Linked DNA regions of Homo sapiens: region 2 is linked to region 1. Evidence: promoter capture Hi-C in 16 types of primary human blood cells and fetal thymus (Javierre and others, 2016). All regions are on one chromosome and are shown on one strand. Each heading gives the region's core, a stretch centred on a gene start or on the middle of the fragment in contact. The rest is flanking DNA. Distances are from core to core; before and after follow the strand shown. Region 1 holds the start of BUB1B-PAK6 (BUB1B-PAK6 readthrough). Region 2 overlaps NUSAP1 (nucleolar and spindle associated protein 1).

Region 1 (4,523 bases), core at 1,222-3,721:
TTCTGAATTAAATGAAGAGAAAAGTACAATTCAATTATTCAAAGATGAAAATAGAGAAGGGGCATTAAATCTTCAACACTCATTTTTTTTTTTAACCAAAGAATATAACAATAGGTGACAGGCTGGGAACTTATTTGCTAAGATAAGCTAAAGTGGAACGTAGATACTTAGTTTTTTTTGAGACGGAGTCTCACTCTGTTGCCCTGGGTGGAGTGCAGTGGCGCGATCTCAGCTCACTGCAACCTCTGCCTCCCAGGTTCAAGTGATTCCCGTGCCTCAGCTTCCCAAGTAGCTAGGATTACAGGCATGTGCCACCACACCCAGCTAATTTTCTTGTATTTTGAGTAGAGACAAGGTTTCGCCATGTTGCCCAGGCTGCTCTCAAACTCCTGACCTCAGGTAATCTGCCTCGGCCTCCCAAAGTGCTGTGATTACAGGTGTGAGCCACCATGCCCGGCTGACTTAGTAAGTTTTATGAGCAGGCTTGAGGGAGTACTAAGGTTCTGAGACCAAGCAGTGCTTATTAAGAGACCACTTACTTCTTCTCCAGGAGAGTCAGTTATCTGGTTTGGTTCTATCCACTTATTAAATAAAAAATAGCCTAAAATTAGCATATAGTTTAGAAATGTAAGTCTTTTCAAAGGATGCTTATTAACTTTTGGTAATAATTGCTATTAAAAAGGAATTTAGGCCAGACACGGTGGCTCACACCTGTAATCCTAGCACTTTGGGAGGCCGAGGCGGGCGGATCACAAGGTCAGGAGTTCGAGATCAGCCTGGCCAACGTAGTGAAACCGCATCTCTACTAAAAATACAAAAATGAGCCAGGCATGGTGGCGCACGCCTGTAATCCCAGCTACTCAGGAGGCTGAAGCAGGAGAATCACTTGAACCTGGGAGGCAGAGGTTGCAGTGAGCCGAGATCATGCCACTGCACTCCAGCCTGGGCAACAGAGCGAGACTCCGTCTCAAAAAATAAATAAATAAAGAAAAAGGAATTTAAGGCTAACACCAATTAGTTAGAAAATTATTCTCATGAAATGCTTCTTTTCACATATCTAAACAGGGAAGCTTCCATACTATAGCTGTAGTCTGGAAGATACAGCTAGATTCAGAATGATGTCCTGAAGTCTGAATAGTTTTGAATCTTATTTTTAGTAAGCAGTTCCTTTTTCCTGCACTAGCTGCTCTGCTGATACTCTAATGAAAACTGGCTGAAACTACTGGAACCATGGCATTTGGATTAAAAAACTAAGGCTGCCAAAGCAGAGATAGCACCCAAGAGAAACAGAAAATTATTGGGACAGGCAGAGACCCTGACATTCATCAATACTTACTCAGAAATATTTTGGCTAAGTTTCCAGAAGGACCCATCCCAGAAGACCTGTAGGTGTTCCTTGAACAATAGTAAATGTGCTAAATCTGCTATACCAAACAGGTCTACCTGAAATCACAAAAAGCACCATCAGCTAAAATAATTCTCTGCCTCTACCATGGCAGCTTATTTCGGTAGGAAGTTGAAAGGTATTACAGTGCTTAACTAAGTTTATTTTATGACATACATTTTAGTAGACTGTTCCTCACCCTTACAGTAAAGGGAGAAGCTCTCCAAAGAAGTGATCAATAGAGCCAATTCTAGGAATTATCCTTAAGAACAAAAGATGAAATATTTGGACTATCACATTCAAATTTGTAGACCTACTGAGTTTGCATGAACTCCAGCTGTGATCTAAATGGGGTCCACATGATTAGTTCAGGTTTGTGCTACATATTCAATCAGCAAATGTCTTATGTCTAAAGCTGAGTTAGAAGGAATTTCTGCATATAATGCCACCATACAAAAGACTTTACATTTGTGCTAATGTTCTTTTTATATACATTACTTCATTTACTCCTCATAACAATTCTGATAAACACATAGCAGAGACTGTTATCCCTATTTTACAGAGAAGATCACAGAAAATGACTTATAAAAGATTACATGGGTGGTAGGCAGTAGGAGTGGCCCTGGCACTCGGTTACAGAGTTAGTCATGTGTTTGCACATGTATGTGTATATTCTTCAATGCTGTAACACAAAAATGTTACATTTTACTTGACTTGGTGATATTTGAAAACTAGGTCATCTATTCTAGGAGTCGGTATCAGTAAACAGTAGCTTTTATAGCTTATCTAGATAATAAAGAGATTAAGAAACCCTCTCCATATTTGCTCAGGCTTGTTTTACACTTACCTGGTAGGGAGAAGAACAGTTAGCCAGGATCTTTTGTCCTTCCAGGATCTGTACAGTCCGAAAGCCGCTGAGGGTAAAAACATCCAGCTGCACCCTAAGGTCAACACTGTAGGAAAAGTCCACTATCTTCAAAGCTTGATTGTTCTTGTTACAATCATAGGGATCGTGGATTCTGAGCCCAGATTTAAGAGAAGGAGATAATAAAAATAGGCCATGAAAGAAGCTGCATAGCTGGTCTTTAAAAAAAAAAGGTACCTTGGGTACATCTTAGCTATGCCAACAACTCCCTCCAGTGGTTAATTTTGAAAATGCACCTGTAAGACAGAGCAGTGGCAGTGTCCACCCAATGCGGAAGGAATGTCACCACTTTGGTGACACAAAGTATATTTCAATCACGGTGCATGGCCACCATTAAACATTTATCAAGCTTCCATATTATATAAAGTAAGTATGGAAGCAGAGCACAGGCTTCTTCCCTGTACTGTACACATTAACACATACAATTGCAATGATTTATACACTGACAGGAATTATGATGGAGGAAATTAAAATTTTATAGGTGTCATAGCCTTTCTTGTTTACTATTCCAGATAGGCTTTCCAAGTATTGTTTAGATTCTTCCTTCCAGAGTTTAATGGAAAACAATGCAAGTCTGTTTTATAAAGTCCTATCTGTATTGTAAAATTTCTTGTAAAACACCATATTTTATCTTACTCTTACTTGTAATTCCAGTTATTTACTAAAAAAATCTTTATAATACTAATTAATTATCAATTAATTTTGTTTTCCTTGGGTTTATCTATCCTATGCAATAATGCTATTCTCCAAGGGGACATAGGAACTGTTTATAAATGAAAAGAGTGGGTTTTCATGTGTTCCTTTTGTCTGTTTTTCTCAATTAATTCCCTCAAACTCCTGATATTGGTGCAATATTCCTAAATACAGTCTTTAACTACTCCAATTACATACCTCCACGGCACAGAATGATCTATGTATTTTACTTTAAAATTGATAATTGCTCTCATTTTTCCTTGGCACAAGAGCCAACCTTTTTTGGCCACCATAAAACTATACTATAATTAAAAAAAAAAAAAAATATATATATATATATATATATATAGTATATATATAGTTATAGGGATCGTGGATTCTGATATATATAAAATATACATATGTATTTTATATATATATGTAAAGTGTGTGCATGTGTGTGTTTTGTTTGGTTTCTTAGACAAGGTCTACACTCTTGTCACTGAGGCTGGAGTACAGTGGTGCGATCTCAGCTCAGTGCAGTCTCTGCCTCCTAGGTTCAAGCGATCCTCCCATCTCAGCCTCCCGAGTAGCTGGGACTACTGGTGTGTGCCACCATGCCTGGCTAATTTCTTAATTTTTTGTAGAGATGAGGTCTCATTATATTGCCCAGACTGGTCTTGAACTCCTAGGCTCAAGTGATCCTCTGCCTTGGTCTCCCAAAGTGCTGGGATTACAGATGTGAGTCACCATGCCCAGTGTAATTGTAAAATATTTATATAACTTTGGAGGCATAGGGAAAAAATGTCTCATAGATTAATAAAAAGAAGCATGCATGAAGGTGTCCTAGCCCTCTAATCAGCTACTCACTCACTGTTACTTTGGGTAGGACATTCCATTTTTTTGGATCTCATTTTCCTCACAAAAAATATGCAGAAACTAAAGTAAGCAACTAAACTAAGCAATTTCAAAAGGTTCTTTCTGGCTTTTATTTTATTTTTGTAGAGACAGGGTCTTGCTATGTTGACCAGGCTGGTCTTGAACTCCTGGCCTCAAGAGATCCTCCTGCCTCTGCCTCCCAAAGTGCTGGGATTGCAGATGTGAACCACTGCATCCAGCCCTTTCTGGCTTTTGTTGTTGTTTTGTTTTGAGATGGAGTCTCGCTCTGTCACCCAGGCTGGAGTGCAGTGGCATGATCTTGGCTCACTGCAAGCTCTGCCTCCCGGGTTCACGCCATTCTCCTGCCTCAGCCTCCTGAGTAGCTGGGACTACAGGCACCTGCCACCACGGCTGGCTATCTTGTTGTATTTTTAGTAGAGACAGGGTTTCACTGTGTTAGCCAGGATGGTCTTGATCTCCTGACCTCGTGATCCGCCCGCCTCGGCCTCCCAAAATGCTGGGATTACAGGCGTGAGCTACTGCGCCCGGCCTCTGGCTTTTTTTTTGAGACAGAATTTTGCTCTTGTTGCCCAGACTGGAGTACAATGGTGCGATCTCAGTTCACCACAACCTCTGCCTCCTGAGTTCAAGCAATTCTCCTTC
Region 2 (4,523 bases), core at 1,601-4,100, 1.1 Mb before region 1:
GTTTATTCAACACATTTTCTAGAGCAATACTCAACGTTTATGGTTGAGACAGTCGTTCTTGCTCTGTCCTTAACTTTTACTTAGAAAATTATGTCATCCATATTACAAAATATAGAAAGCAGCAGCTTGACTCTTTTTTTTTCTTTAGAGATGGAGTCTCACTGTATTGCCCAGGTTGGTCTTCAACACTGGGGCTCAAGTGATCCTTCGGCCTAACCCTCCCAAAGTTGTGGATTGACAGGTGTGAGCCACTGTGTCTGGCTGAAACATTTTTTTAAATTAACTTAAATTATTATTATTTTTTTTTTGAGATGGAGTTTCACTCTTGTTGCCCAGGCTGGAGTGCAATGGCATGGTCTCGGCTCACCGCAACCTCTGCCTCCCGGGTTCAAGCAATTCTCCTGCCTCAGCCTCCCGAGTAGCTGGGATTACAGACATGCGCCACCATGCCAAGATAATTTTGTATTTTTAGTAAAGATGGGGTTTCTCCATGTTGGTCAGGCTGGTCTCAAACCCCTGACCTCAGGTGATCCGCCTGCCTCAGCTTCCCAAAGTACTGGGATTACAGGTGTGAGCCACCACGCCCTGGCCTATTTTTTTTGTTTTTTGAGATGGAGTCTTGGTCTGTTGCCCAGGCTGGAGTGCAGTGGTGTGACCTCCATGCACTGCAACCTCCACCTCCTGGGTTCAAGCGATTCTCCTGTCTCAGCTTCCTGAGTAGCTGGGAGTACAGGCACCCACCACCATGGCCAGGTAATTTTTGTATTTTTAGTAGAGACAGGGTTTTGCCATGCTGGCAAGATCTGTCGAACCCGGGAGGTGCAGGTTGCAGTGAGCCAAGATCGCACCACTGCACTCCAGCCTGAGTGACACAGTGAGACTCATCGCAAAAAAAAAAAAAAAAAAAAGATGGATAAACAGTGCCTTCAAATGTGGTAACAGTGAGGACAGGAGTGGTGGCTCACGCCTGTAATCCCAGCACTTTGGGAGGCTGAGGTGGGTGGATCACCTGAAGTCAGGAGATCGAGACCAGCCTGGCCAACATGGTGAAACCCCATCTTTACTGAAAATATAAAAATTAGCAGGGGCTGGGCGCCGTGGCTTATGCCTGTGATCCCAGCACTTTGGGAGGCTGAGGCAGGTGGATCACAAGGTCAGGAGTTCAAGACTAGCCTGGCCAACATAGTGAAACCCCGTCTCTACTAAAAATACAAAAAATTAGCCAGGCGTGGTGGCAGGCACCTATAATCCCAGCTACTCAGGAGGCTGAGGCAGGAGAATTGCTTGAACCTGGGAGGTGGAAGTTGTGGTGAGCCAAGATCACGCCATTGCACTCCAGTCTGGGCAAGAAGAGTGAAACTGTGTCAAAACAAACAAACAAACAAACAAACAAAAATTAGCCGGGTGTGGTGGTGGTTGCCTGTAATCCCAGGTACTTGGGAGGCTGAGGTGGGAGAATCACTTGAATCCAGGAGGTGGAGGTTGCAATGAGCCAATATTGTGTCACTGCACTCCAGCCTGGGCAACACAATGTGACTCCATCTAAAAAAAATAAATAAAATTACAAATACAAATATTAGCTGGGTGTGGTGGTGGGCACCTGTAATCCCAACTACTTGGGAGGCTGAGGCAAAATAATCTGCTGCATCCGGGAAGCAGAGGTTCCAGTGAGGCAAGATCGCACCATTGCACTCCAGCCTGGGTGACAGAGTGAGACTGAGTCTCAAAAAAAAAAAAAGTTTGACAAACAGTGCCTTCAAATGTGGTAACAGTGAGGATGGGAGCAATGGCTCATGCATGTAATACCAGCACTTTGGGAGGTGGGTTGATCACCTGAGGTCAGGAGTTCAAGACCAGCCTGGCCAACATGGTGAAAACCCGTCTCTACTAAAAATAAAAAAATTAGCTGGGTGTGGTGGTGGGCGCCTGTAATCTCAGCTACTGGGGAGGCTAAAGGCAGGAAAATCACTTGAATCAGGGAGGCAGAGGTTGCAGTGAGCTGAGACTGTACCATTGCCCTCCAGTCTGGGCAACAAGAGCGAAACTCTGTCTCAAAAAAAAAAAAGAAAAGAAAAGAAAAAAAATGGTTGTAACAGTGGTTTTACATCGTTAAAATGAATGTTTATTATTTCAATTAAGCTTCTCACCAAGAAGCTTAAGTACTTAAATTATTTACAATTTATCACCCAGTGAGTTTTCCTCTTGGCCCTAGCTGCCAGAAAACTTAAACTCAGCTGAGTGACTGATGGTAGTAAATACTGTACCTACTAACAGTGCTAATTTTCTGCCGCTTTTAAATTGACTATACTATTTTATATTTAATACCATAAACTTACATTATTTTGAGAATAGGCCTTAAATTCTTTTTGAGAAATAGGGAAGTTATGTAAAATAAACATGGGGTTAAGAATTAAATACAGCGAATAGAAATAAATATAATCTGGTGGCTCACACCTGTAATCCCAGCACTTTGGGAGGCTGAGGTGGGAGGATCACTTGAGCCTAGGCGTTCAAGGAGAGCCTGGGAATCATAGGGAGACCCTGTCTTTATGAGAAAAATACATAAATCCATAAATATTTAAAAATGTGTTTCCTGCCCTCCATTCGGCACTGCCTTAACACCAGATACCAATAACATCAACTTGCTAGAATGTTACTCACTACTTTGCTAACTCAGCCTCAGAGTTGACTTTATCACCTTCTCTTACTTGAGGAGGCTTTGAGTCCTGTGGAACCTGGACTGAAAGCCCTCGAGGGAGCTGTTACCACAGGAACCCTTCAGGTTTGCCACTATTAATCACCCATTTTCCTTTACATAAGGGACGAGGGAAAGAAGATGGCTTCAGCCATAAGTTGGTTCATCATCAATGAAAGTAATAGGCAAAACATCTGAATATGGAAAGTAGAATGACATTGCCATTTTGGAAATAGTTTCTCATAGTCAGGATTCACTGTTTTCTTTTTTTTTGAGACGGAGTCTCACTCTGTCACCCAGGCTGGAGTGCAGTGGCGCGATCTCAGCTCACTGCAATGTTGGCCTCCTGGTTCAAGTGATTCTCCTGCCTCAGCCTCCTGAGTAGATGGGATTACAGCCATGTGCCACCCCCTACTAATTTTCTGTATTTTTTGTAGAGACAGGGTTTCACCATGTTGCCCAGGCTGGCCTTGAACTCCTGACCTGAGGTAATCCACTTGCCTTGGCCTCCCAAAGTGCGGGGATTACAGGCATGAGCCACTGCGCTTGGCCATGGATTCACTGTTTTATCTAGAGGACTTTGAAAATTCTCAGGGTAGGGGAAAGCAAGTTTTAGATAAAGATATATTAAATTCAAACAAATCTACTGGTAGAGTGACAGCCAGTTGTTGTAACCACGGTGTTATATAGTTTCAAAATTATAATCAAACAGTTTAGTTCCATTAAGAACATAATTTTATCTACATACCTTCAGTTCATTCATGGAATTGTGTTCTTCAAAATGTTTCTTTTTTCTCTCAATATATTGATCAATGGACTCCATTTCCTTAAAATGAGCTTCATGAAGCTTCTTAAAGTCTAGAATGTTCCAATATAAAAATTAATAACAAAACAAAATCCATTTATTTATCTTCTCTGTGTTTTTCTGTTAACACTTATTCTCTTCTTTGCATCCCTGACATTCAACTTCAATATAATTTTTGCTAAAACATTAATTTCAAAATACTTAGTTTTTGGAAACTCAGGGGCAAAGCACATTCATCTTATAAACTATCAAACATTCACCATCTCCCCACTGACAAATTTCACTAAATTGACATCTTGGTTTAATCCAGAGGATTAGAGTAGAAGATTTATCTTCTCCCCTACCAATTAGTCACAAGTGGTCTTTATTTAATAATGAATTTGATATTTTATAATGCTGTATGTCAAGGACTGACAAATTTATTCTATAAAGGGCTAGATAAAAGTATTTAAGACTTGGCTGGTCATGGTGGCTCAACACCTGTAATCTCAGCACTTTGGGAAGCCAAAGCGGTCAGATCACCTGAGGTCAGGAGTTCGAGACCAGCCTGACCAACATGGAGAAACCCCATCTCTACTAAAAATACAAAAATTAGCCAGGTGTGGTGGCGCACGCCTGTAATCCCAGCTACTCGGGACACTGAGGCAGGAGAATCGCTTGAACCCGGGAGGTGGAGGTTGCAGTGAGCCTAGATTGCGCCATTGCACTCCAGCCTGGGCAACAAGAGCAAAACTTCGTCTCAAAAAAAAAAAGTATTTTAGGCTTTATGGCCACATATGGTATGGTCTCTGTCTCATATTCTTCTTGTTTTTATGTTATTTATTTATTTATTTTGAGACGGAGTCTTGCTCTATTGCCCAGGCTACAGTGCAATGGCATGATCTTGGCTCACTGCAACCTCTGCCTCACAGGTTCAAGCGATTTTCCTGCCTCAGCTTCCCAAGTAGCTGGGGTTAAAGGCACCTGCCGCCACACCTGGCTAATGTTTGTATTTTCAGTAGAGATGGGGTTTCACCATGCTGG

The links. The method cuts DNA at HindIII sites, captures the fragments that hold promoters and counts their contacts. A CHiCAGO score of 5 or more calls a contact.
Region 2: a fragment that was not itself captured here is called in contact with the fragment with the promoter of BUB1B-PAK6 in region 1 in 1 of 17 cell types (erythroblasts); the score reaches 6.1 in erythroblasts.

What each region holds. Positions count from the first base shown.
Region 1 is chr15:40,215,376-40,219,898 of GRCh38, reverse strand. BUB1B-PAK6 (BUB1B-PAK6 readthrough) reads right to left here and starts at 2,471. Exons shown (of 10, transcript NM_001128629.3): 1 at 2,232-2,471. It overlaps BUB1B (BUB1 mitotic checkpoint serine/threonine kinase B), which reads right to left. Exons shown (of 23, transcript NM_001211.6): 21 at 2,232-2,403; 22 at 1,337-1,443. All of the region lies in intron 1 of LOC107984763 (a long non-coding RNA gene), which reads left to right. The HindIII fragment of the contact is 293 bases long and covers 2,368-2,660 here.
Region 2 is chr15:41,357,179-41,361,701 of GRCh38, reverse strand. NUSAP1 (nucleolar and spindle associated protein 1) reads right to left here. Exons shown (of 11, transcript NM_016359.5): 6 at 3,444-3,553. Among named protein-coding and RNA genes, the nearest start is that of NUSAP1, 27 kb to the right of the region's middle. The HindIII fragment of the contact is 1,388 bases long and covers 2,157-3,544 here.